Linked DNA regions of Homo sapiens: all the other regions are linked to region 6. The links are contacts of gene promoters, found by promoter capture Hi-C in human tissues and cell types (Jung and others, 2019). All regions are on one chromosome and are shown on one strand. The core of a region is centred on a gene start or on the middle of the fragment in contact, and the rest is flanking DNA. Distances in the headings are between cores, read along the strand shown.

Region 1 (3,645 bases), core at 143-2,642, 1.1 Mb before region 6:
AAGACCGAGGTGACCACTTTCAGAAGGTTCTCTAAAGTACTATCTGGTCCCAGGGCCTGTTCCCTCAACTTCCTCCTGATATCAGGGGCTGCCTGAATAATAAACTTATTCTTTAAGATTAGTTGTCCCTCGATGGAATCAGGAGACAGAGAGGTGTGCATTACCAAGCCTTCTCTTAGCCATTCCAAGAAGGCAGTGGGATTTTCATCAAATCCCTGATCGATCATGGACAATTTAGCATAATTGGGAGGCTTGATCCTGGTCTTAAGACCCCGATTATGCATACCTAGAAGTGTCTCCTATTCCAGTCTCTCATCTCATCATTGGGATCCCATCCAGGGTCATTCACTGGTACTGCTTCTCTACCAGTTAGATAATGTTCACCGTCTTCCCTGATGCTATATGTTATACAAAGCTCCTCCCCAAATCTCCCTGTCACTTGCAAAGTGGCTTGCTTCTCAGTATGCATCAGAGTCTGATTCACAAGTAACATAATATCTCTCCAGGAGAGTTCAGATCTTTGGGTGAAATTCTGGAAAGCCTCTATATATCTGTGAGGGTCCTCTACAAACTTGTCAATAGCCCCCTTAATTTGCTTTAAGTCCTATAAAGAGAAGGGGTCTGGACCTTACTGGGGCCAAATTCACCAGGCACTTGTTGCAGAGGCAAGAGTAAGACTGGGGCTTGTCTAGGGTGAGAATTTCTTGGAGGGGAAATGTGAGAGGCTGAAGCTGGATAGGGAAGTTGGGGAGGACCTGAAGGAGCAGGGTTGGAGGGAGCTGGCTCCTCTTCTGGGGGAACCTCTGGGGTTTCTTTCTTTAGTTGCTTGAGATTGCCCCTGGTAGCCTCTCCCGAAGTGGCAAACAGGAGGGCTGGATCAATCCTACACTGTTGGCAAAGATCAGGATTGCCCTGCAAGATATAGAAAGCCTGCACATATGGGTCCTCAGACCACTAGTCCTCATGTTTACAGAAAAGGTCCAATTGCAGGATGGTATTGAAATAAATGGTTCCTTCCTGAGGCCAAGCCAGTCCTTGCTATAAATCATAATTTGGCCAAATCTTTGTACAGAGGACTATGAGACATTTTTTTTCCTCCAGATTCTGAGGGTCAAAGCAGTTCCAATGGTTTAGAATACATTCCAGAAGAGTACAAGCTGGGGGTGGTGAAGAGAGCTGGTTACTCATTCCGAAAGATAGGCTATAGAGCCGTCCCTCACTTCCCTTCCTTCTTTCAGCGAACCTCGGGGTGTGGAGAGAGAAAACAAGTGCCCTCCCTTTCTCTTCCATCTTTTTATCCCTGTGTCCAGGTGACCTTGGCAGGTACTGCTCATGGGTGCCAATGCAGCATGCACCCATAAAACAGGGAAAGCGTAGAGAACAGGAATTTTCTGACCTTACCTTCGCCTCCATCTTTCCCTGCTGTTGACAACCTTTGAGTTTCCTAGGTCTCATTTACGCCACAGAGCATGGCCTGTTTCCGTGGGGTGGGGGCTTTGGTCAGCAGGAATTGGTCCTGTCCATTTACATTGTGCCTATTGCCTGGCTTTGGATCCCTCAGATCTGGTTTTCCTTTCTAGGGCCTCAGCCTGAAGCTTGTAATCAAGTTTGGGACTCAAAAGTATTTCAAGTGGCTGCATGAATCAACTATCTCAAATGAGCCCCGCTAAATTTGCAGTTATCAGCCAGTAGGGGTCGCTTCTCCATTAACTTCCCTAACAGAAGCAGCGTGCTGGGGAAGAAAACCTCTTGGAAAAGGAAAACAAGAGAAAACAGTTTAAGGAACAAAAGGGGAAGGTCCTGGGGGAAGAACCCCTTGCTCAGCGCAAATGTGTCTCCTTAATCATTGTATGCTTCCCCTCTGTTCAGACAGAGCTGAATTCCTTGGCCAGAGTAGAGTTCCACTGGCACACCGGGCAGCAAGCGCCAGCCAGCCAACCGTGCAGGCTCCCAGTGGCAGCTGTGGTTTTTCCCCCGCCCGTCGTGGCCGTTGCCGTGGCCATTTCATCTGGGGGCTCCATCTGGGATATTCATCAGAAGGGTGAGTTGAAATGGAAAACTGTCGGATCTGTCTCTTTTCCAAGACCCTGCCACCTCTCTCTTTCATGCTCTGTTTCCTTTCGGGGAGGTCTAACTACCACATGGGTCGGGAGTAAAGCCCCGGGGCAACTGAAGGCATCTTTTGCTGGAAGGCCCCAAGGGTGAGCTCCATTGGTCAAGAACCCCAGACTTCCTTTGGTGTCTTGTCTTCTCTCATGGTTTGAAATGGTTCTGATCTTTCCTTTATAATGCTAAGCGTTTTGCTACAGATTACGGCTGTAATACTAAATAGAATGAGCATTTGGCTCAGCCATCAAAGGTGCAAATCAGAACAACATGGTTCTGTTTCCACCCCCACATCCACAGGCACTCAGGGAACTTGACAAATTCATGCCCTGTCCCCTCCCAGCTTGGGAACCTGGTCATGTTCACTGCATGCAAAAGCCATGTTCACTGGTCACGAGGGGCGGGAGAAAAACCACGGCTCTCACAGTAATTTGTTACAGACAACAGAAAAGCAATAGGGAAATAATACATTAACATTATTTAATCTGCATATCTCTGTAGGTGTATCAATCTCTTTCTATATATGTATAATTATAATACATATATCTATGCATCTTCCAAAATGATTTAAAAGTGTCTTGAATCAAAAACTATTTTATTTTTTGAGACAAAGTCTCACTATGTCACCCAGGCTTAAGTGCGGTGGCGTGATCACACCTCACTGCAGCCTGGACCTCCACGCCTCAAGCAATTCTCCTACCTCAGCCTCTTCAGTAGCTGGGACTATGGAAGTTCATCAGCACACCAGGTGAAGTTTTTGGAAATTTTTTCATAGAGGTGAGATCTCATTATGTTGCCCAGGCTGGTCTCTAACCCCTGGGCTCAAGTGATTCTCCTGCCTTGGCCTTCCAAAATGCTAGGATTTCAGGCATGGGCCACGGCACCCCAAAAACTGATTTTAATTTGGTACATTTTATATGCCAGGCATGTCCTGAGTAGCTACTTATGATAGAAGTTAAGCTACGGGTAAATGTAAATGACCATTTACATTCAAGTAAGCATAACTTGATTGATTTATTTGGAGTAAGTGGTACACTTATTCCAAAGAAAGAGAGTGAATAGTAGAATTTAAACTAGAATTGGGGAAATGTCACATCACTATTCACCATAAGCACTAATTTAGAAGTTTCCACTTTCCCTTGAAGGCTATTGAGGGTTATTAAATAATTTTATGATCAAATAATATAAAATGAAAAAAGTAGATACAAGTAGAAAGCTTAAGTGGAAAAACAGTCTTCTTCATTCAAAGGGTCGTATTGCTATTTATTGGCGTCACTAGAGTAAAATATTCCGTGAGGTGTATTAAAAATCTTGTTAAATTGAAATTTGACATAGCATTTTATAAAATATAAAAATTTAAATATGGTAGTTCTCTAGGGAGTTTATATCGGAGATGCAAAACCCATTTACCTTTAAAGGAAATCTTAGAAGCTGCTAATGTAGCTATGGTTTATAATATTATATGTCTGTTTTGCTCACCAGTCTATCAGGTAATTCTTCAAGCAGCAGACCCCTGTAATGACCAAGGATTCCTGGCCC
Region 2 (3,532 bases), core at 717-3,216, 1.0 Mb before region 6:
TAATTGGGAAAGTTATAAAAATGGCACTAGATCACCCTTTTTCATACCAGTGAATACCGAATATGTGAAAGATTAGATCTTAACAGTTTTCATTATTACATTTTCTTTTTTATAATATAGCTAGTTATACATTTGGTATTGTTAGTTTTAATATTTTCGTAATGCATTTCATCAATGTGAGAGGGCAGGAGGCAACCAAATGCCTAGGCAGATAGGGGTGGGTCCCTGGTGAAACGTCACCTCTAAGCCGAAGACAATTTAAAGCCTGAAAGTCAAGCTACAAGTTAAATCCTCAGACTGGCTTGGCAACTTGTCTCCCTGTTTAGTGGGCTTTCCTCTGATTTCCCCACCCTTCACCTATTTTACATATACCTACCCTTCCCTAATTGGTTTCTACACTGTCATGCCCACCTTTGAATGATGTCTTCACTTTAACCTTTTATCGTTATTGAAAAATTACATTTAAAAATTATCTGTAAATATTTGGGAGAAATGTCATAGGCAATCACTTAATTTGCTTATGATGGTTGTCCTTCTGTGCAAAAAATACTGACTATCCAATGTGAGACACAGAAAGGGTTGTGGAGCCATGTTTTTCATTTCTTCCAGCAATAAATGTTTAATTTGCTTGGGAAAAGCAAACACTAAGTTGACAATGACTCAATTTTTATGGTACATGGAAAGATCTATCATTTTCAAATATGTATGTCATTCAATATTTTCAGTAAATACTTCCATATTGGTAGAACATGCTGTAAACCAAATTATTCTTACAGTTTAGAAGTCAATTTTTCAGAAATTCCACGAATTAGATTATCATTACCTTTTTTTTTTTTTTTAATTATACTTTAAGTTCTGGGATACATGTGCAGAACGTGCAGGTTTGTTACATAGGTTTACATGTGCCATGGTAGTTTTCTGCACTCATCAACCTGTCATCTGCATTAGGTATTTCTCCTAATGCAATCCCTCCCCTAGAGCCCTAACCCCCAACAGGCCCCGGTGTGTGATGTTCCCTCCTTCCCTGTGCCCTTATGTTCTCAGTGTTCAACTCCCACTTATGAGCAATTATGAGTGACAACATGCGGTGTTTGGTTTTCTGTTCCTGTGTTAGTCTGCCGAGAACGATGGTTTCCAGCTTCATCCATGTCCCTCCAAAGGACATGAACTCATTCTTTCCTATGGCTGCATAGTATTCCATGATGTATGTGTGCCACATTTTCTTAATCCAGTCTAAAATTGATGGGCATTTGTGTTGGTTCCAAGTTCTCGCTATTGTGAATAATGCTGCAATAAACATACATGTGCATGTGTCTTTGTAGTAGAATGAGTCATAATCCTTTGTGCATATACCCAGTAATGGGATTGCTGATCAAATGGTATTTCTAGTTCCAGATCCTTGAGGAATCGCGACACTGTCTTACACAATGGTTGAACTAATTTATACGCCCACCAACAGTGTAAAAGCCTTCCTATTTCTCTACAACCTCTCCAGTAACTGTTTTTTCCTGACTTTTTAATGATCGCCATTCTAACTGGCATGAGATGGTATCTCATTGTGGTTTTGATTTGCATTTCTCTAACAACCAGTGATGATGACCTTTTTTTCATGTTTTTTGGCCGCATAAATGTCTTCTTTTGAAAGTGTCTGTTTATATCCTTTGCCCAGTTTTGATGTTTTTTTTTTATTTTCTTGTAAATTTGTGTAAGTGCCTTGTAGATTCTGGATATTAGCCCTTTGTCAGATGGAGAGATTGCAAAATTTTCTCCCATTCTGTAGGTTGCCTGTTGACTCCGACGATAGTTTCTTTTGCCATGCAGAAGCTCTTTAGTTTAATTAAATCCCATTTGTCTACTTTGGCTTTTGTTGCAATTGCTTTTGGTGTTTTAGTCATTAAGTCATTGCCCATGCGTATGTGGAACAGAACAGAAGACTCAGAAATAACACCACACATCTACAACCATCTGATCTTTGACAAAAACAAGCAATGGGGAAAAAATTTCCTATTTAATAAATGGTGTTGGGAAAACTGGCTAGCCATATGCAGAGAACTGAAACTGGACCCCTTCCTTATACCTTATACAAAAATTAACTCAAGATGGATTAAAGATTTAAACGTAAGACCTAAAACCATAAAAACCCTAGAAGACATTTTATGTCTTAAGTGAAAGTTTTGTGATAAAATGTTTATTCTATCATTTTATGATGATGAACTTTGGTTTATTTTAAACCCCTATAATGATTGGAATTTTATTTTGTTTTACCAGTCTTCATAATAAAGGAATAAACAAAATCATGAAAAATAACCTACTGCATTTAAATGAGAGTGCAGTGAGCCATTTAACATTATTCGTGTTATATCATGAACATGTGAATTGCTTGGCAATAGCAGACTCATCCAAAAAGTTCAGACAATTAAAATGGAGAAATAGTGTTGTCCAAAGCATGTTTAATTCCCTAGATTGCTTTCAGCTATGATTTTTCAAATTTACTCACTTCAACATTTCTGATGTTCAATATTGACCAATGATATTTCCTTGCCTGAAACTATTAGCCAAAAATAAGGAAATAAATAAAACAAGCTTGAATTTGGGTGAAATTTTATATAAAGATGAAATGCTATACATTGTTTATATAGTGTATGAATAGAATAACAATTTGTCAACCCAGTCTAATGCAAAGTTAGCCACATAATTGTCTTAAATATTTGAGGAAGATATTTAAAGTAATGCAAGTGAGATATGTGATTTTGTTAAAATGCCATAATGATAAAAATGTACTATAGACTGTGTGGCTTATCAATAATGGAAACTTATTTCTCATAGTCTTGGAGGATGGAAATTGGAGATGAGCACCATCCTAACCGGGTTTTATGAGGAGCCTTTTCAAGTTTGCTGATTATTATTATTATTATCATTATTATTATTATTTGAGATAAAGTCTCGCTCTGTCGCCCAGGCTGGAGTGCAGTGACATGATCTCGGCTCACTGCAACCTCCGCCTCCTGGATTCAAACGATTCTCCCACCTCAGCCTCCCCAGTAGCTGGGATTACAGGTGCCTGACACCGCGCCTGGCTAATTTTTTGTATTTTTAGTAGAGAGGGGGGTTTCTTCATGTTGGTCAGGCTGGTCTTGAACTCCTGACCTCAGGTGATCCGCCCACCTCAGCCTCCCAAAGTGCTGAGATTACAGGCATGAGCCAACGTGCCCAGCTGACTACTAGTTTTCATTGCATCTTCACTTGCAGAAAGAGCTAGAGCTAGCTCTATGGCTTCTTATTAAGGCACTAATCCCATTCATGAAGGCTTCACCCTTGTGGCCTAACTACCTCCCAAAGGCCCCACCTTCAAACACCATTATTCAGGGACTTGGATTTCAACATATGAACTTTGCAGGGGGATGTTTGTGGGGGGGTTACAAACATTCAGATCAAAGGCTACATCATAGTCACTTTTCTTTGTCTATTTTGTGTCCTACGAAGACATAGATTGGAACTTAATGCCTTTAACATGTTTATAGAGGCTAGTTTT
Region 3 (3,529 bases), core at 735-3,234, 1.7 Mb before region 6:
GTGAGATGGTATCTTATTGTGGTTTTGGATTGCATTTCTCTGATGATTAGTGATGTCAATTACCTGGATTTTAAAAAGCATAATAATCACATTTTGCTTATGTGACAGGAGTTGTTATTTTTAGTTATGTATGCAGAAATATTTAGAGATGTAAACTAGATATCTGTGATTTTTTTAAAAAAATAATTTGAAGTTCAAGAGGCTGAGAGAGGAGAAATTAAATAATTTGTGGCATGAAATTGTTATAGTTATGGGACACACTATGGCTTATTATGCTCTGCCATAATAACATGTCTAGAAATTTGCATATGAAAAGAAATTTAAATATTAACAAGAGAAAATATTACAAATAATTTTAATAGTTTGGATATGTACTAGGTATGATGATAAATCATTGCTAATTTTGTTACATGCTATAGAGTTACTAAGGTTTTATAAGAAACTGTTTTTTCTTTTTTTTTTTTTTTTTTTTTTTTTAAAGACAGAGTCTCACTCACTATGTTGCCCAGGCTGGAGTACAGTGGTGCCATCTCAGCTCACTGCAACCTCCACCTCCCAGGTTCAAGTGATTCTCCTGCCTCAGATTCCCAAGTAGCTGGGATTACAGGTGCACACCACCACACCAGGCTAATTTTTGTATTTTTAGTAGAAACGGGGTTTCACCATATTGGTCAGGCTGGTCTTGAACTCCTGATCTCATGATTTGCCCACTTCGTTCTCCCAAAGTGCTGGGATTACAGATGTGAGCCACCGCGCCCCACCAAGAAATTGTATTTTTAAAATCCATTACAAAATATGTAGACATGAAATAATGTAGTATCATTAAAATATTCAGAAAAATAAAAGAGGACTGAGGCTAAGATGAAACATGTTCTGCAAAATGTTGGTAGTTACCAAGTTCTAGCATGTATATAGGAGTCTATTCACAATCTAATTTTGTGTGTCTCTTTAAAAAATAATAAAAATCAAAGAAAATTGAAAATCAGAATAGAATGAGCAGGTTTTCCCAACATGCAATGCAAATATAATGCATAGTTATTTCTCAGATTTTTTAAGAAACTGATATTTTACATTATGTCACATTTTATGAGTTGGCATTTTTAACAAGCAATTAGTGCTAATTTCAAAATGAACATTTTTAGTCTAACAGTAAGTATATAACTTTCCCTTATTCTATTTCTAGCTTATAATGTGTTACTTAATGTGTTGGATCTTTGTGTTTTGATTTCCTTTCATTCATGTCAGAAGCATTGGGAGCAATAAAACATGATCCTTCTGTTTCTGCGTTCTTCAAGTCTTGCTCTCACATGAGTATTTCTCATTTTATTGGCATTTATCTTGATATTTTTATTAATGGTCCCATTGCCCCCACAACAAGTAGGCTTTTTCTTCATTTTTTCATTTTCCCACTGATTGTTTTTATGCTCACTTTCTGTTATTAACCGGAGTTTAATATGGATGCAAATGACCTGATCACCTTATGCTTTAATCTAGAGCCTCTTCATAATCTCCTTAAACTAAAGCATGACAATATGCTTCTCAAAATTGCCTCCCCTATAAAATACATAGTTATATTTTGACTTATTCTTCCTCTTTATCCACTGTATCTAATTAACCAATAACTAATTAATTATTTTAAGCTTTATTATAGCTTCTCTTCTTTTCTTACTTTCCTCTGCTATGCCTATCTAATCCCATCCACAATTTCACACTTACCATTAGACCATTTTAATCACTTATTAATCAATACTTGTAGTAGGTATTTTCTGTATGTCATTTATGTAAGAATCTACTTTTTAAAAATTGTTGATTTTTAAAATATTGATTTCAGAGGGTACTTGTGCAGGTTTGTTACATGGATATGTTGTGTGAAGCTGAGGTTTGGGCTTCCACTGAACCTGTCACCTAAATGATGAACATAGTGCCCAAGAGGTAGTTTTTCAACTCTTGCCCTCTGCCATCTCCCCCTCCTTTTGGAGTCCCCAGTGTTCATTGTTTCTATCCTTATGTTCATGTCTACCCAATGCTTAGCTTCCACATCTAAGTGAGAACATGAAGTCTTTAACTTTTTATTTCTGAGTTAATTCACTTAGGATAATAGCCTCAAGTTGATCCATGTTGCTGCAAAGAATATGATCTTGTCCTTTTTTATGGCTGTGTAGTATTCTATGGTGTGTATGTACCACATTTTCTTTATCCAATCAACCGTTGATGAATACCTATGTTGATTCCATGTCTTTGCTATTGTGAATAGTGCTGAAGTAAACATATGAATGCAAGTGTTTTGTTTTGTTTTGTTTTGTTTTCCTTTGGTAGATTAATTTTTTCTAATTAATTTCTAATTAATTTTTAAATTTCTTTTCCTTCGGATATATACGCAGAAATGAAATTGATGGTTCAAATGGTAATTTTAGTTTTTGTTCTTTGGTTTGTATCTATAGTATACCATTCAAAAATTCAAAATTTAAAGAACTTGAACCTTCATAAATACATGTAGTTTTTACTTTTTAGTTTCCTTAGTGTACTCATATATTTTGATAAGAATTCTAAGTTGAAAGGATCCTCTTTTGTTTACAGTGGTATTTACTTCAATCTATGTTTTATTCTTTTATATAAACTTCATGAGATAACACACATAAAAGTTCTTTTCTTATAATACCAGCAGCTTCAGATAAAAATCCTTCCAGCACTTACAGACAAATCCATTATAGCTTACCTTATTCCTTTTGGGTTATATAACTATCCACTAAAATAAAATACAAAATATTTTACAGTATGTTTTAGTATTTTTAATATGCATGGCAAAATGTATTAAGTATATTTGAAGGCCATGACTTTAGAGTTCTTACTATTTAGCTATTCTAAGTATAAATTTGTATTTATATAGTAAAAAAAAGGTTCTATTAAACAACATAGATCTAGGCAATAATTAGAAAAATAATCATCACAAAGAATGTATTTTCAGAACAAATTACCTTAATTAAACAATTTGCTTAGTACTGATTTTTACAATTTTTAAACTCTATTTTAGCTATTAGAGTTTAACAAATAAAATCACTATCAATATCATTTTATAATATAATCAATGTCATTTTTATAAAGCTGGATTAAAGATATTTCTGAGAAAAAGAAAATGCTTAGATAATGAGTAGTGATTACTTGTGATGAGTATGTTTTACAGTTTCCTCTCCTCTGTCTGCATGTTTACATTTTTGAGAAGTTATACCAATATCTGTGAATGAAAGACATGTATGGAGGCATTAAACTGTCTTTTTTTTTAATTTTAAGAGATAAAAGAAATCAATACTTCAGTTACAACAAAAATGTAATTTATAACTATTAATATAACATGTTTATTTTAATTTTCATGTAAGCACAAATACAAAGTAAAATACAAAGAATATGTTATTGGCAATGTATTTATGCATTATTTCTGTTACTTTTCTGGTTGTTACCTTGACAATCAAAAATTAGATTTTTTAATTTTTATCTAATACAGAGAAGATTATGACTGTAAATATGTTAATTA
Region 4 (3,702 bases), core at 769-3,268, 1.7 Mb after region 6:
TATGCATGAAATGTTTGTTAATTAAATAAATGAAAGCAAGAACTGCAGAGAGGGTCAACTATACATAAATTTGGAATTTATTCACGCTTTTTCAGTACATATTTACTGATAGTTTATTACAAGGTTACTGAAAAACAATGTTACATATACTTTGATGTAGTAAAAAAATTAAATTTTAAGAATCATAATATGATAAAAGTATACTGGGAAAGTTTGCTGCATAGGGAACAAAGTAGTTGTGAAATGTGAGTGGAGCACTCGATGTATAATGCTTTTGTGGCTTGAGTTTTTTTTTCCTTAGTAATAATACATTTCTTTGATGCTTACTTTTGTAAAATTTGTAAAGAAAATTTGAATAGTAGATAGCTTAGGAAACTTAGACTTCTTTGTAAAAAGAAAGTTGGCAGAGGTATTTTATGCATTACCAGCATTATATTATCATCAGATCTAGTCAAAAGCATTTCTTTCCAAAATTGCATAAGACTCAAAACCAGCTATTGTCTCCTACAATCATTGGTTTCAATAGACAGAAAAGAAAAATAGGGCCTTCCAGCATGGACCAATTGAAAGAGAAAAACTTGGAGGTTGAAAAATAAGGTTAAGTGCACGGAAAAAGTACTAGTTAAAATTGCATGCAGTTATCCATGTGAAGGGTAACTGCAGGAAGAATTATATATGAAGCAGATAGCATAAATACTAAGGTAGTAGACCGAGAGGATTGTGGTTAATTCAGAAGTCTATTGAATTTTAAGGAGTAGGAGGCAGTCATGGCTGACTGTGTTTCTTTCCTATTAATCTGGGGTATGGAAAGGCAAGAAGCAGGAACAATTACAAGTGTCTATTGTAGTCATTTAAATGAACCTATACATTATAAATTATATTCAATAAATTATAATCTATAGGTTATAAAATTTTTGAACAAGCAGTTACCACTATTAATTTTTACAAAACATTAATCTCATTAGTAACAAATCACTGGGGAAGAAAGAATTCTAGTTAAGTAAAGTTAAGTAAATTCTAGTTAAGAATTCTAGTTAAGTCAAATTTTTTCTTATATTTTCTAACTGAACTTTTTGTATCTCGTGCAATATTACATAGTATTCATAGTGTAGCCAGTGCATGGCCATAACATTTAAAGGCGTAAGAGGATATTATGGAGAACATATGCATGTATTGTCTGTTTTTGAGTTTCAACTTGAGAATGTAGCTCTGTCCTTCACAGAAAAGAGTGACTGTGATGGTTAATTTTAGGTGTCAACTTGACCAGGCCACTGAATGCCAAGATACTTGGTTCAACATTATTTCTAGGTGTGTTTTAGGGTGTTTTCAGAAGAGATTAACATGTGAATTGGCCAACTGAGTGCAGATGGCCCTCCTCAGGGTGGCTGGGCATCATACTATACACTGGGGGCCTGAACAGAGCAAAAAGGTGAAGGGAGTTTGAAGTTTTTTTCTGCTGGACTGGTTGAACTCGATACTGATCTTCTCCTGTCCTTGAAGACCCAGGTTCTCATGCCTTCACTTTGGACTAGAATATACACCAATGACCCTCTGACTCTCAGGCCTTTAAACTACATGACCAACTTTCCTGAGCCTTCAGCTTAACAGATGGAAGTTCATAGAACTTAGCTCCTTAATCACATGACCCAATTCCTCATTCTCTCTCTGTCTCTCCAAATGTGTGTGTGTGTGTGTGTGTGTGTATGTGTGTGTGTGTGTTTGTGTATAAATACATATTTGTACACATAAGTCCTGCTGATTTTGTTTATCTCAGGACTGGCTAATATAATCTCAAAGAATAACTGTGAATTTACTATATCCAGAACTTTTCAAAATACTTTAATAATGGAATAACTTGTCTGCCAAGTTTTGATTTCTGCATTTTTTTTTTGCATTGAGTATGAGGTATATCAATGTAATCAATCTAGTTATGATTAGGAGTAATTTGTTTATCTTAGCAAATACGTAGTCCAATCCATGTGTCTGAAAATAGGAATGGCAGAGGACTTAGTAAATCATGTAAGAATTATTCTTAGTTTTACTCTTCGGTTTTGATAATGTCTGTGTCTGTAATTGAACTCTACAAACCACAGTTCGGTTATCTTTTCCTGCCAGTAAAGACAAGAATAATTATACAGTGATTGTCACAGTAGAACAAAGATCTAAAATTTGGGGGCTCCGTGTATAACCTTACAGACAAAAGTGTAAAGTAAACCTACAATAGTAAACTTATCTTAAAGTCAAAATTTACATATATGTCTTTATAGACCAAAAGAAGAAAGAGAAATGTGTTCAAATCATCATACATGTTTCTACTTCTGACTGTAGTGGAGTGTGTGAATGTGTATGTGTGTAGGTAGGTTTAGAAATTTAACCAGGACTTCAGTTTTTCTTAGATTTATTCAGACTACTTTAATCTATAACAATAGTTTACACATAATAAATGTTCATAATATGAGCCTTTCTTCCTTTTCTGTCTTTAGAATTTCTTTAGAACACAATGCCCAGACTAATGTAACTAAATATATCATTCTGACTTTAGCTGTCTACGGCAGCACGACATGAGCACATATGAAAATATTTCATGGTTTTTAGTTGGTGAAGTCATTTATTTTTACTTGCTATAATTCTTCACAGAATTATTTGAAATCATTTCAATCACATAACATCTCAGAAAAGATTTTTTCTTTCACATTACTAAAAATGTATGACTCAAAATAATTACTAGTTATAAAAACCTATTTACATACCTTAACATATAAGTAAACTGAATCCTTTCAAGAAGGAAATTTATATACCTTAACATATAAATGAACTAAATCCTTCCAAAAACGAAATATAAGGGACTATTTGAATCAAATCAACTGTGTACAAATCATTAAAACTTAGAATTTTAGTTCTGAAATTAGAAAATTATTGATATGTAATAACCTAAAATGACCAATATATTTTAGTTTTTATTAATGTGAGACAATCATATATTTTCTCTCATTCAGAACTTGGTTACTTTCAAATAATGTTTATAATTTTTTTTTTCCTAGTGCCTTATGGTAATTTTTCCTTTTTATCTCTCAAATGAGTTCCAAGCTGTCTCAGTAAACTGATATCCTGTTCCTTTCTGCTTTCACAAAGAATATTTTACTTAAAAATCTTCTGATATTTTTAAATACATCCTGCACATAATTTATTAGTTTTAAAGTTTCCATAATTTATGGATCAAAAATATTAAGGTCTATTGTAGTTCATCACAATCCTTTAAATTTCTGGCAGGCATACAACCAGATTATAAATGAATCTGTAAGAGAATTTTATAGATAAATGAATTTTATGTAAGATTATATTTGAGATGCAGGTATCTCTACTTCAGAGAGTACTGATATTCTTGCTATGCTATCTGAAATCAAATCACAAAGATGATCACCAAAGAAAGTGAGGCATACTTTTGTCTGATTTTTAATACATAAATCCCATTTGAAATGATTTCACCAATTAAATATAGAAATCATAAGTATGTAATATTCATCTTTATGTTCACTTTCTGAATATTACCACAACCATTTGTAAGTCCTTGACTTTTGCAAATGTAAAAAATAAGTAGGATTTTCTTTACATTTGAAATTTCAAATAATTTTCAGCATGTTTTTCCAGCAACAGCCCTCCATCTTTGATATACTCAAAGAAAGAAATGGTAGCAGAAATCAC
Region 5 (3,561 bases), core at 1,058-3,557, 2.0 Mb before region 6:
CTCTCTGCATTTAAATCAAATAAAAGAGAAGAGATAGGAGCTAAAGAATTGATGGTTAAATATTTAAGTAGTCAAGGATTGCAAAGTTTTAAATTAAAACTGCATCTTTTGCCAACCTCTCCAGATGGCAAACCATTCATTTAAGAAATAGCTTCCAGGAAAAGATTCAATCCAAGGTAGAACTGCAAGATCTTATGTCAAGACCTTAGAAAAGATCTAAGATGAGGTCTTATGTAACCTTTCAGACAGACAAAAATTCTTCCAGAGAGCATGAGGTTATTCCTCAAAGGTCTTCTCTATTAAACAAATGGTTTTCTAAGAATCTTAAGGACTGCCCTACAGCAGTACCATAGGGAGACCAAATAGATGTGAGATTATCTTGATGAGATTGTGGGTGTGACTCTTGTCTATGGAATAATTTATAAATTGACACATATTCCAAAGCTTTAAAAGTTTTGTTTAACGGAGTTCATAAACTTATACTTAAAAGGATAGTTAAAAAGAAAGATTTTTGTCCTTCAACCTTCTACAAGCAAAACAAAGAAGGCTAAAAATCTTCTCAGAGAAATATATATATACTACCCCCGATGAAAAGAAAAGGATGATTTAGATGGTGAAACAAGAAATCTAGTAGGCAGATTCAAAAGCCCCAGAGAATAACTGAGTCTTAATCTAATAAATAACCCGATGAATTTTCAAATAACTATTGACCAATGACTGTGGTGTGCCTCCTGATTTTCTCATTTTAAACTGGGAACGTCTATCGTGGTTACATAAGTCTATGCCGCCATAGTATGATGACTATGTAGTAGAGTAGAGAAATACATTTTCAGTTCACCTTTAAGCATATGTATTATTACTTCCCTGGTCCTATATATGTCTGCTTATCACTTGGGTTAATATAAGCATCCCAGTTTTTCACCTACTGCATGACAATATATTTGCAAAAAAAGACTGAAGTAATTTTTTTCAACATTCAAATCAAATGATGTCCCTCTTTGCCCAAAATTCTGCAATAGCTTCACATCTCACTCAAAAAAAAAATAGTCTTTACTCTGAACAGAAGACCAGCCACCTTCTGTACCAGGATACTGAATGGCTGATTCTAATATTTCTTTCTGTTTGGACAGTAAGCCCATACTCTTTGCAACATAGCTCTGTGTGCTCTGCCATTGTAGATTAAAAATACTTGTCTCCCATATTAATATTAGACTTGGCTACGTAATTTGCTTTGGCAATGAAATATGAGTCTTTTTGGCATAAATAGAGACACAAAATATGCTTTTTTTTGGTCTGGTTTTCCATCTACTATTATCCCTAAAAAGAACACACCTCAGCTGCAGATCTAAAGAGGGACAAATGGAGCAGCTCTTGACTCGTTTTATAGACAAATAACAAATGCATCTGGCCCTCATCCAGAAGTAGAAGAGCCCAGTCAAGTTCACACTAGATCAGCTGAACTCCAGGAGACCTGTAGACACTTGAGTGTGGAAAACACATTTTTTTTTTTCTGGTAAACCAGATATCTGTATGCCTGCTTCCTTGTTTTAATCAGAAATATTTTCACAAATGTTACCTCTACCCCTCCCACATTTTAACCATCTGGATTTTTCCTTTTAGTATTTGCACATCTCATAATTGCATATTTATTGTTAATGTCTTTTAATTGTCTGCTTCCCTCTCAAACCTACAAACGTTATGAGAAAGGGGACGTACGTTTTTGTTTTGGTTTTTGGTGTGTTCACAGCACCCCAACTATTGCATAGTTCATAATAGGACCTCAAAATGTGTTTAATAAACTAGGGAAATACGTACATACTTGACTGTGTTAATTCACTATGAGTTTTTATTCATGTTTCAGGATACATCTGAAAAAAAACTATGTAGGTTGACCTGTATTAGGTAAAAGACTATTAGAGGTGTAAATCATTTATGTTTTATTCTGATTTGATGTGATTTCTGTGTGTGGTGAAACCCACAGTATAATATAGAGAATATTTCTGCATAAGGCCAATTTATCCTGTGGTACCAGAGGGGATTTGCTACAGAAATCATCAAAGGACCTCATTAGAGTTTATCTTTACCTACATGGTGAGTTCATGCAATGAACATTAGAGACAGGATTTTAATGAGTACAGTTTACAAAATATTGCTTTCATTACATTCTATAGGAAATAATAACACTGAGTGAAAGTAATTTTAAATATTTTAAAGGATTATTGATTTAATCAAAACAGAAATACATATAATCTTCTAATGAAGATTTTACTTTATTGTCATTCTGTATAATACCATACACAGCAAAGATGTATTAGCTTCATTAAAGAAGTCTTGCATCTGAGATTCTTGTTTTTCTAACCAGCAAAATATTAAGAGGCAAAACTTTCCTTTTCGATATTTTTCTACCTTATAACATAACTTTCCAAGTATATCTCTTCTATATGATTATTGTAGGTTTGGTACCTATGAATATTGGAGGCATATAAGAAGTCAGTCCTCTAATAATGAGCATCACATGAGGTGTCTGTTGATTACCAATGAATGCAGAATACTTAAACCACTTGTTCACTTCTGGTTTAATATTAGACAATTTTATTGTTATTGTAATAATGCCTTTGTTGTAATAATGCTTTTTGATACTGTTATATAATAATGTTTTTTCATTTAAGAATTGTTTTTATAATATATCTCATTATCTTTTTATAAATAACATTCAAATTATTTTATAATGAGATGTTAATAAAATATTTTATTTTATTTTTTATTCTTAATTTTTGTGCATACATAGTAGGTGTATATAATTATGGAGTACATGAGATATTCTGATAACAGAACATGAAATAAGCACATAATGAAGAATGGGGTATCTATCCCTTTAAGCATTTATACTTTTAGTTATAAACAATCCAATTGCACTCTTTGTTATCTTAATATGTACAATTGTTATTATTGAATATAGTCACCCTGTTGTGCTATCAAATAGTAGGTCTTATTCATTCTCTCTAACTAATTTGTGTACTCATTAACCATCCCCACTGCCTCCCTGCCCCTCCTTCCATTTTGAGCCTCTGGTAATCATCTTTCTACTCTCTATGTCCATGAGTTCAATTGTTTGGATTTTTAGATCCCACAAATAAGTGATAACACATGATGTTTTTCTTTCTGTGCCTGGTTTATTTCACTTGACATGGTGATCTCCAGTTCTATTCATGTTGTTGCAAATGAATGGATCACATTCTTTTTTATGACTGAGTAGTACTCCATTGTGTATATGTACCACATTTTCCATATCCATGTATCTGTTGATAGACACTCTTTTCATGCTGCTGATAAAGACATACCAGAGACTGGGTAATTTATAAAGAAAAAGAGGTTTAGTGGACCCACAGTGCCATGTAGCTGGGGAGGCCTCACAATTATGGTGGAAGATGAAAGGCATGTCTTACATGGCAGCAGACATGAGAGAAATGAGAGCCAAGCAAAAGGAGAAACCTATTATAAAATCATCAGATCTCATGAGACTTATTCACTACCATAAGAACAGTATACGGGGGAAAGCGC
Region 6 (3,616 bases), core at 314-2,813:
TCCAACATTTGCATACTGATTTCTGAACATTAAATCTGCATCCAATCGTGTTTCATCCGCCACTAACACTATAGCTGTGGGGAGGAGAAGGGCAGAAAAAGGAAGGCTTCACATCCAAAATGTCAAGCCCTGCTGAAGAATGATAGAAGGACTCTGTGGAAGAGCAGAAACCAACTTCTGGGCTTAAAATGGAGTTCTACCACCCCCTGCTGGACCAAACGAGCAATACAGAAGAGGCTAAAAATGCTTAGAACTGAATATCTTGGGGATATTTTAACTTGTCTTGTAATTTATTATATTATTTTAAAAAACCAATTTCACACTACACTAACAACATAACATTCTTTGCAATCATTACATATCTCAAAATTAGTGCTATTTTATTTTTCCTTTAAAGACTTTCACCAATGCATGTTTTAGCATTTTGTGTCCCTAATTAAACGTCCAAACTTGTCTGGACAGTTGAAAATGCTTCCATTTATTGTAAATATATTTCATGTGAGTGTTTACTATCTAAACAGCCAGATAAATTCATATCTATCTCTCTAGAGACAAACAGTGATAGCTTCCACAAATTCCCTCTCAGGTTATTCTACCAGGCTATTCATTTTTTTTTTTTAAGAGATAAAAGCTTCCACCAGTTCTCCCACAACCCCAAAAATCCTCTACAGGTGTAATTACAATGTAATGTTATAAAATGATTCCACCTTTCTGTATTAATAAGGGGTTGGGGTCAAAATGAATGACTGCAACACATCCCTAGTTTTATCCATTTGCTTTCTTACACACAATATCCACGGCCCCTCTCTTAGTTTCCAACAGAAATAAGCCATCATCATTCACTTCATAGTCAGGAATTAGGGTTTTGGGAAAGGGGTGGAAAAAAAAAAGAGTCTCCAAGAATCGAACGTCTTGCACACAGCAGATATTTTGCAAATGAGTTTAACACTGATAGTTTTTGCTGCTTCTGTAAAACACCATCGTGCCCTTTCCTTCCGCAACCTCAGATATTTCACTGTTAACACACTCATCCAATTTCTGATAATAAAAATAAGAGAAAGCCATAATCCCAGAGGAAAAAAAAAGAAGAAGAAGAAGCGGTTTCCCTGGATATCCTGCTCACCGATTCCCCTCTCCAATTCTGTATTTTCCCTTCTCTTATTTAAGGGTCTCCACACAACAGATACAATTTTAGGGACAGCTAGGAGAAAGAACGAAAATAATAATAACAACAACAGCAATAACTGTAACTTTAGTTCTTTCATTTCATTCTTCCTGCGCCTCCCTCTTTGCCTCTCTTGGCCGGGTGGAAGGGGGAGGGAAAGTAAATGCAATAAAGCGCCACACTCCTACCTTGCCCGCTACTGACAAGCAACCCCAGCAGGTAGAAGGAGAGGAGGAGGCTCATGTTCAGGACGTGACACCGGTGGACAGTTTCAAAGTTATTAAGTCCAGCCCTGGAGAGAGAACCTTTCGCTGCCCCGGCCGCCTCTGCTAGAGCCGCCGCCGCCGCTCCCGCGGTGCCCCAGCCGCCCGCAGCCCGCGCGCTCCTCCTCGCAAAGTGACTGCAAGCTCCGCTCTTGCCGCACTATATCCAGGCAGCGGCGGCGGCAGCGGCGGCAGAAGCAGCAGCAGCAGCGGCCGCCGCGGCGGCAGCAGAGCCGGGCGGGGAGGGCGGCGGGGGCGGGGGCGCGGCGAGGGGAGGTGCGGCCGAGGCGTATCCCTCCGCGCTGCACGGCGGCCGCTCTTCCGCGAGGCGCGCGGTCCCGGGATTCGTCCGCAGTGGAGCTCGAAGTCACGGGTTCGGTCCCCGGTGCCTCCGCCTAGAGGGGCGGCCGCGATCGCGAAGGCGCCACTCGCCCGCCGGCCATCCGCAGGTTCATGCACGCCCTGAGCCGAGAAGGGCGTGGGGATGGGGGCAGCCTGGAGCTCCTTCACAGCCGCCGGCTGCCTCAGGACAGCTGAGCTGATGCTGAGCTGAGCTGAGCTGAGCTGATGCTCATGCAGATGCTGATGCTGATGCTGATGCTGATACTGATACTGCAGGCGACCGCCCCGAGCGCGCCCCGGCTCAACGTGAATGGGGGATCTGGAGGCGGGCGGTGTGCCCCGCAGCTTATTCCTTTTGGGCGTGGGAGGAGGGAGATTCTTGTCTCTCCGTGGACCTCCTTCTCCCTCTCTCGCTCAAACCTGGAGCAGGCTGGCCCCTTGCGCGGCTGTCCCCTTCCCACGCTCCCCACCCCGCCGCGACAGAGGGGAAGCAATTGTACCCTAAAGTCTACACTGTCTGTCTCCTCAGGCGCTAAAGGGTGGGCGGAAAAATAACGTACAGAGTGTTTCCTCTACATCTCGACCCATTGCTGTTGGGAGCGGCACCTTACGGGAGAGACACTGGAGAGGGGACGAGCCGCGGGAGGGGCTGCGTTCAACTCAGCCTTAGCCTCAGCTGTGTCCTTAGAGGCCTGAAGTCTCTCCTGGCCTCACTCCGCGGGCTCTGCCCTCGGTCCCAGTGCGCTGCACTGGCCAGATCCCCGCCAGGAGTGCACCGAGGGAGGACTGCAAATGTGCAAAGATGAGTTGGGTCGCGGGGGGGAGACCTTCCCCAGATCAGTGCCCTACCCCGAACACCCACGTACCCGCGTGTGCGAGTGTAAATTGAAGTGAGGGAGCCGTGGCAAACGCCCGGAACTAACTCTCTGCTCCTTAAGATTGGGGCTTATCGTTATTTCTCCTAGAAGGGTAGGAAAACGTTTGTGAGATTAACGTCACCTCTCCTGCAAGAGCGGTTAAGAGGCAGAATCACCGGCCCGGGTGCGGAGCCCATGTCAATCTGGCCTGGGGTTACCGCGACCTGCAAACGCTGACGATGGGTCCTTTCATCTGCACTTTCTCTCTGGCTCCTTAGAAAACTCAACTGCCTCGCCCCGGCCTCCACAAGGACCCTAGCTCCTTCCTTATCAGTGAGGACATAGAAATAGCGGGGGTTGGAGAGGGGGGAGGTAGAAATGTAGAGCTCAGAATCCAGCCCCAGCCTGGGGATTTCACGCTGAAAAGGGCAGTGCATTGCCTTCAGGGAGGGCAGGGGGCAAGAGTAGACACAGGCTAACATGCATAGGGGAGATACCGTCTGCGATTTGTCCTCCCCAGGCAGAGCGCTTTATACAGATGATTCGTCCACTTGGCATCCTGGGATGGGGTTATCAGGAAGAGAGGAGGGGAAAGGCGGCCCTCAACTCACCATCGCTGAACTGCCTTAAGCAATGGCCCTCTCAGCACCTCACAGCTAGAGAACCTCTTATTTCCTCTTGATCTTATAGCAGACAATATATTTAGAAAGTTATTTTGCCACGGTACCCTTCTCACACCCTTTACTGGTTCTGGAATGCACTAACCACACTTAAGTAAACTCATGGTCAGCTCTTTGCAGGAAAGGGTGGAAGTAGCACATTTATAGATGTGAAAGACCGTGACTCATTTATTTACTCCAATTCTTCATTTCTCTTGGGCATTGATAAATGCTACACAGTAGGCCTTCTGCGTCCACAGTTCTACATCCTCAGATTCTACCAACCATGGATGAAAAATAACTTTAAAAAAAATGAAACAATGATACAAT

The links. Contacts are between HindIII fragments. The study calls those that stand out against the background at their distance.
Region 1: a fragment that was not itself captured here is called in contact with the fragment with the promoter of NCAM2 in region 6 in 1 of the 25 tissues and cell types used here (lymphoblastoid cells).
Region 2: a fragment that was not itself captured here is called in contact with the fragment with the promoter of NCAM2 in region 6 in 1 of the 25 tissues and cell types used here (lymphoblastoid cells).
Region 3: a contact is called between a fragment that was not itself captured here and the fragment with the promoter of NCAM2 in region 6, in 1 of the 25 tissues and cell types used here (lymphoblastoid cells).
Region 4: a fragment that was not itself captured here is called in contact with the fragment with the promoter of NCAM2 in region 6 in 1 of the 25 tissues and cell types used here (dorsolateral prefrontal cortex).
Region 5: a contact is called between a fragment that was not itself captured here and the fragment with the promoter of NCAM2 in region 6, in 1 of the 25 tissues and cell types used here (dorsolateral prefrontal cortex).

What each region holds. Positions count from the first base shown.
Region 1 is chr21:22,119,117-22,122,761 of GRCh38, reverse strand. No RefSeq gene overlaps it. Among named protein-coding and RNA genes, the nearest start is that of LINC00308, 22 kb to the right of the region's middle. The HindIII fragment of the contact is 4,627 bases long and covers 1-3,645 here.
Region 2 is chr21:22,028,291-22,031,822 of GRCh38, reverse strand. The region is part of intron 4 of LINC01687 (long intergenic non-protein coding RNA 1687); the gene reads left to right. Among named protein-coding and RNA genes, the nearest start is that of LINC01687, 68 kb to the left of the region's middle. The HindIII fragment of the contact is 8,159 bases long and covers 1-3,532 here.
Region 3 is chr21:22,705,773-22,709,301 of GRCh38, reverse strand. No RefSeq gene overlaps it. Among named protein-coding and RNA genes, the nearest start is that of MIR6130, 370 kb to the left of the region's middle. The HindIII fragment of the contact is 4,596 bases long and covers 1-3,529 here.
Region 4 is chr21:19,322,644-19,326,345 of GRCh38, reverse strand. No RefSeq gene overlaps it. Among named protein-coding and RNA genes, the nearest start is that of MIR548XHG, 560 kb to the right of the region's middle. The HindIII fragment of the contact is 8,874 bases long and covers 1-3,702 here.
Region 5 is chr21:22,989,053-22,992,613 of GRCh38, reverse strand. No RefSeq gene overlaps it. Among named protein-coding and RNA genes, the nearest start is that of MIR6130, 88 kb to the left of the region's middle. The HindIII fragment of the contact is 4,354 bases long and covers 131-3,561 here.
Region 6 is chr21:20,996,356-20,999,971 of GRCh38, reverse strand. NCAM2 (neural cell adhesion molecule 2) reads right to left here and starts at 1,563. Exons shown (of 18, transcript NM_004540.5): 1 at 1,354-1,563. The coding sequence starts at 1,408. The HindIII fragment of the contact is 14,781 bases long and covers 1-3,616 here.